Regions from separate parts of the Homo sapiens genome. Here region 1 is linked to region 2. Evidence: promoter capture Hi-C in 16 types of primary human blood cells and fetal thymus (Javierre and others, 2016). All regions are on one chromosome and are shown on one strand. The core of a region is centred on a gene start or on the middle of the fragment in contact, and the rest is flanking DNA. Distances in the headings are between cores, read along the strand shown. Region 1 overlaps LOC124904413 (a long non-coding RNA gene). Region 2 holds the start of PLEKHO1 (pleckstrin homology domain containing O1).

What was found. Contacts are between HindIII fragments. The CHiCAGO score rates a contact against its expected background, and 5 or more counts as called.
Region 1: a fragment that was not itself captured here is called in contact with the fragment with the promoter of PLEKHO1 in region 2 in 5 of 17 cell types (erythroblasts, naive CD8 T cells, neutrophils and 2 more); the score reaches 10.3 in erythroblasts.

What each region holds. Positions count from the first base shown.
Region 1 is chr1:150,038,953-150,041,926 of GRCh38, reverse strand. The region is part of intron 1 of LOC124904413 (a long non-coding RNA gene); the gene reads right to left. It also overlaps a transcript of OTUD7B not described here. Among named protein-coding and RNA genes, the nearest start is that of VPS45, 27 kb to the left of the region's middle. The HindIII fragment of the contact is 5,988 bases long and covers 1-2,974 here.
Region 2 is chr1:150,148,114-150,151,200 of GRCh38, reverse strand. PLEKHO1 (pleckstrin homology domain containing O1) reads right to left here and starts at 1,285. Exons shown (of 6, transcript NM_016274.6): 1 at 914-1,285; 2 at 143-289. The coding sequence starts at 943. RefSeq lists silencers at 978-1,057, 1,198-1,657 and an enhancer at 845-1,345. The HindIII fragment of the contact is 16,730 bases long and covers 1-3,087 here.

The DNA.
Region 1 (2,974 bases), core at 414-2,913, 110 kb after region 2:
ATAGCTTTAGAAATGCACTCAAAGAACATAAAAGATTGAAAATCAATGAACCAAACATTAAACTCAATAAGCTAGGCAAAGAACATTACAAACAACTCTTTTAAAAGTTGGGGGATGGAATTAAAAGAGATAAAGCAGAAATTAATGAAATAAAAAACAAACAATAAAAGGCACACTCAATTAGTGTACTAAAAATCTGATTATTTGATAACCAATAAAACAGACCAATCTTTGGCAAGTCTGATTAAAAAAAGAAAGATGGAGAAGGAGAGAAAATATAAAAATAGCATCAGGGCCAGGTGCAGTGGCTCACGCCTGTTTTCCTAGCACTTTGGGAGGCCGAGGTGGGTGGATCACTTGAGGCCAGGAGTTTGAGACCAGCCTGGCCAACATTGTGAAACCCCATCTCTACTAAAAATACAAAAAATTAGCCGGGTGTGGTGGCATGAGCCTGTAATCCCAGCTACTCTGGAGGCTGAGGCATGAGAATCGCTTGAACGCGGGAGGCGGAGGATGCAGTGAGCTGAGATGGCACCACTGCACTCCAGCCTGAGCAACAGAGTGAGACTCTGTCTCGAAACAAACAAACAAAAACAACAACAACAAAGCATTGGAATGAAAAGGACATATAATCACAGAAATAGTGAAGATTTTAAAAGCATACTAATGTATTGCATATTACCTTATAGCAATAAATTTAAAATTCGGGTGAAATTTATCTAAGTATATAACAAACCAAAATTGACTCAAAAAGAGGTGGGGAATCTAAGATATTAAAAAAAATTATTGAAGAAGAAAAAGAGCACAATATAGTTAACATGACTGAACTGTACACTTAAAAATTATTAAGATGGTAAATTGTATGTATTTTTTTAACTACGATGAAACAAATTTTTTTAATTAAAAAAAGGAAAAGAGGCCAGGCGCTGTGGCAAACACCTGTAATCCCAGCACTTTGGGAGGCCGAGGAGGGCAGATCTCTTGAAGTCACAAATTTGAGACCAGCCTGGTCAACATGGCGAAACCCTGTCTCTACTAAAAATACAAAAATTAGCTGGGCATGGTGGCGGGAACCTGTAATCCCAGCTATTTGGGAGGCTGGGGCAGGAGAATGGCTTAAACCCAGGAGGCAGATGTTGCAGTGAGCAGTGACTGCACCATTGCACTCCAGCCTGGGCAACAGAGTGAGACTCCATCTCAAAAAAAAAAAAAAGGAAAGAAAAGGTCTCAAGTCTAGGTGATTTTATGGGCAAGTTATAGATAATCTCTAAAGAAGAGACAAATTCATTTGTTACTTTCACATTTCCATAGCATAGAAAATAATGAGACATTTGCAATATATTTCTGTAAGGTAAATCTTAATAAGGGAAGCAAACAAGTATGGCACAGAAAGAAATACTTGTATCAATCTCATTTATAAATGTAAATATAAAAATATTAAATCAAAAATTAGCAATTTTAATTCAACAACAGGTTAAACAAAAAATAGATCATGGATATCTACTAGAATATAAGCTCCATGAGGGTAGGAATCATTGTGAGTTCCTTTAATACAAGCTAAGTGGCCAGAAAGCTGCCTGGCATATATTAAGTACATGAATATTTGTTGAATTGAATGAACTGAATTAACCAAGTAGGTTTGATCCAACTGTGGTTGACCTTAAGGAATATGTTCAGTATACTGAAAGAAAAATAATAAAAGAGATCATCTTTCTAAGATACTGAAAACCCTATTGATAAAATTTAACTCCCATTCCTGATAAAAGCTATTGTAAGCTAGGAAAAGGAAATTTCCTTAATTTGATGTAGGCTATCTATTTAAAAACTTAAACATCACAGTTTATTATGAAACGTTAGAAGGCTTTTCATGAATAACACAAAAAATGCCTGCTATAACTGCTGCTATTCAACAGTGTTCTAGAGGTCTTAGCCAATGGAAAAGAAACATAGAAATGAGTTAAATACTGGAAAGGAAGCAACAAAAATCATTATATACACAGGCAATAGAGGTAATCTAAGACAACCAATGAAGCACTAATTTGAATTAATGAGAGTGCAATAAAATGGCTCCGTATAAGGAAAACAAAATCAGTATCTGCTCTTATGCCACAATAACTAATGAAAAAATGTAGAGGAAAAAAATTACATTTATAAGAATAACAAAAGCCTAAACTGGACAAGAAATGTGTAACACTTATATGAGAAAGAAAGTATAAATATTTTCTGAAAGACACTTTAAAACATTTTGAATAGGCCAGGCGCAGTGGCTCATGCCTGTAATCCCAGCACTTCGGGAGGCCGAGGCAGGCGATCACGAGGTCAGGAGATTGAGCCTATCCTGGCTAACACGGTGAAACTCTGTCTCTATTAAAAATACAAAAAATTAACTGGGCATGGTGGTGGGCACCTGTAGTCCCAGCTACTGGGAGGCCGAGGCAGGAGAATGGCTTGAACCCGGGAGACGGAGCTTGCAGTGAGCCTAGATCGCGCCACTGCACTCCAGCCTGGGTGACAGAGCGAGAATCCGTCTCAAAAAAAATTTTTTTTTTAATAAATGAAGAGATAATATAATTTATGATAATATTCAGTCTTATGATTATGGTAATCTCTCAATTAATCATTAAATTCAATGTAATCTCAATCAAAACCTTGATAGGAATTTGACATATGAAGAGAGAATTGAGGATAGGAACTTGACATATGAAGAGAGAATATAGACAAGAACAGACAATTGTAAAAGTTTTTTCTTTTCTGTTTTTAAAGAGCAATGAATAGCATATAGGGCTGGAAGAACTTGCTCTATTAGATATTAGAAAGACAAGAGTAATTAAGATAGTTTAGTAATGGCAAAGGAAAGCTAAATAGATTGGAATAGAGTAGAATGTATCAAAATAGATCCATATATATGGAAATTTACTTAATAATAAAGATTACATTTCAAATCAGTGGGGAAGAAATGGACAGTATAAGAGGT
Region 2 (3,087 bases), core at 36-2,535:
TGCAGATGAGATGGGGGTAGAGAGGAGACCACTGAACTTGCCTTTGGAACAAAACGGGGGTGGAGTAAGCTAGGCGAGCCCTTGGGGAGTGACAAAGTGGGGGCTATGAGAAAACGGAGAGTTAGAGGCAAGAGGCACCCACCTCCTTCTCAGAGATGTAGAGCTGGTCCCCTTTCAGCACCACATAGCGGTTTTTCCAAATCTCCCTGAAAATCCCTTTCCCGCAGAATTTCCGGACCCAGCCGACCTTCTCGGGCGGTGCAGGCTGCTGGTTTCCATCCTGAGGTCCCTGCCCCAGGACAAGATGAGAAGCGGGCGGTTAGGAGATTCCAGCCGGCGCTTCCTCTCCGTCCGTCTCTCACGACCGCCTCGGCGGCCCAGTCTCCTCCGAAGGCTGCGGCCGGGGGGCGGGGGGCCGCCCCAGGTTCGCTCCCACTTCGGAAAGGTTTTCACTCCGAGGAACTCCCCCCGCTCCCCTCCCCCGCTCCCGAATAAACAACCGGGGCTGCAAGTGGCAGGGGCGCCGGCCGGGCGCGGAGAGGCTCCCAGGTTCCCTCCAGGCCCTGCGCCCCCGCCGCCCCGTCCTCGCCGCGCGGGGACTAACGGCGTTTCTCTGGTTTTCTCTCCCATTGTCTCCTCGCCACGGCGGAGCGCGAGGCAAACGCTCGCCCGGCGCCCGGGGGCGGGGGAGGTGCGGGTCGTGGGGAAACTCAGCCAAGTTGAAGCCCCCCGAGGCGAGTAAACAAACAAAAGCCCCCGCGGGCGCCTGGCGGGGCCGAGGCCGAGGGGACCGGGCCGCCGGGGCGGGGGCGCGGCCGGGCCGTGGGTCTCCCAGGCCGCCGCGGCGCCGACGGAGCGGGGGTCGTCAGAGCGCGGAGGCGGCGGCGGCCGCAGGGCGGGCAAGCGCACTCACCCGCTTGGCGGAATTGTTCTTCTTCATCATTCCCAGCGGGCGCGGGCGCGGGGCGGCGAGCCGAGGGGCGGCCCCGCGTCGGGGCCTCGGCGGCACCGCGGGGGCTCCTTCCCCGCGGGAGGGCGTCGGAGCTGCCCCGGCGCCGCCGCTCCTCCCTCGCGCCCTCCCGCTCCCGGACTCTCCCCTTCTTTGTAGCTCCGGTTTCACTCAAGGCCGGCCTCCCTCGCATTCGCACTCGCACACACACGCACGCCCGCTCCCCGCCCCTTGGCGCCCTCCATCCCGGCGCCCACGCGGCCCGGGTCCCCGAGCGCACCCCCGCCACCCGCCCGCCCGGCCCAGCGCGGCCGCTCCCCCGGCCCGGTGCGCTGTGGGCGGCCCAGTCCGCACCCCGCAGCTCCATCCGCGGGCCGCTGACGTTGCGAGTTCAGAATAAAGGGCGAATCGCGGAGCCGCAGCTCGGGCGCTCCCCCCGCCCCCCCGCCTTTGTTTCTGACTCACGGAGGGGGAAGAAGGCGGCTTCGAAGCGGCTGGAGACCGCTCCCCAGGGGGCAGGGACCCTCGCTCCGGCGGCGGCTCGGGCGACACGCGGAGCCCGAGAGACCCGGCCGCCGGCCGCCCCGGGGCCCAGTGGGCGGGCGCGGTGGATAATGGAGAGACGTGCGGATTCGTGAAGACTGGAGATCGCCAGCCTCTACAGCATCGCCTTACCCGACCAAAAACAAAAACGAGAGCGGGAACCGGGAGGGCGCGCCACCCACAACCCGCATCAGGAATTCACGCTCCTAGGTGCTAGGGTGGCCTGGGCAGGTCAGATGCTGGGGGAAAGTTTTATGCTCCGGAGGGGATCGACGTGTTGGGGGATGGGGTGGGACAGAAGTTGCTATTAATACACGTTTCTTCCAGCGTACAATGCCTCAGGCCTTATTGTAGCTTCAGGAGAATAATCCTAAGGATGAGGCGGATTTTATGATCTCCATCTCACAGGGAGAAAACGGAGACTCAGAATAGCTGAGGGATTTGCAGACACAGTGTCGATGCTGGCTTTTCAGACACAGTGTCAATGCTGGCAGGAATAGAACTCTGTCTCCAAACCATTATCCTTTCTACCAAGTGGCTTTCAATATAAGTTCCAGGTGAGGCTTAAACTTCCTGCCACCTGGGTATCTTTTCCCGCTATACTGATAGGTAAAAACCCCACCCTCTCTACAGCGCTGGAGCCCAGTGGAGGGAAGGGCTGAACGCCCAGAGAATGCCCTGACTAGAGAAGCCTCTGCTGATCCCTCCTACAGCAGATCTGCCTCAGAGCCTCCAGGACACATCTTAGTAACTTCATGTCTTTTTAATATATATACGTGTGATGGAAAAGGGGAGTGAGAAACCCCGCGCTTGGGTACTGGTTTCATCACCACTCTGGGCTTTGGTCAAGTCACTGAATTTCTTTAGGCCCGCGTCCCTCCACGTATTAAGTGGTGAGGGATGAACTGCCATTTTTATCAACAAGGAAAGCTAGGGGAAGATATGAGATGACCTCTGAGAGTCCTTTGAAGATATGTGTTGTCTTCCAGGGCTAATTTTGAAATCATAATAAGCTAATAAACACATTGCCTGGCATATGGCAAGCATGCAGTAACCACAAAATGAATAAAAATCCCTGGCACTGAGGAGCAGGGAAAAGGAAAAATCATTTTTCCAGAGATGTCTCAAGATAAAAGTGTTGGCTAGATTTGTGGTTTGAATAGTGGAGGCTCTTTTGACTTTTTCTGGTGTCTGTCAAATGAAGGAGGGGCTCCCTCTCTTTTCCAGTTCCACCTTTCCTCCTAATCCAATGATATTCCTCTCAACTTCTTTCCATTCACCATACCAATTAATTCCACGATTTTAGACTGACACAGAACTTTATCCTTTCAAAATGCTCTTATATGTCATTTCTTTACACTTTTAATGCCACCTTGTAAGGTATATAGAGTATTAATATTTCCATTTGGAAAATGAGGAAACAGGGCATGCCAGATAAACTGACTTGCCCAAGTTTATACATCAAGTTACTGGCTAAATGGATTAGAATCCAGGCTTCCTGACTGCAGTCTCCTCTTCAGATTTTGTAACCCCCTCCCATGGGCATGAGTGTGCACACACCACGTTCCCCAAACCATCTTGTCCCCTTTCCACCG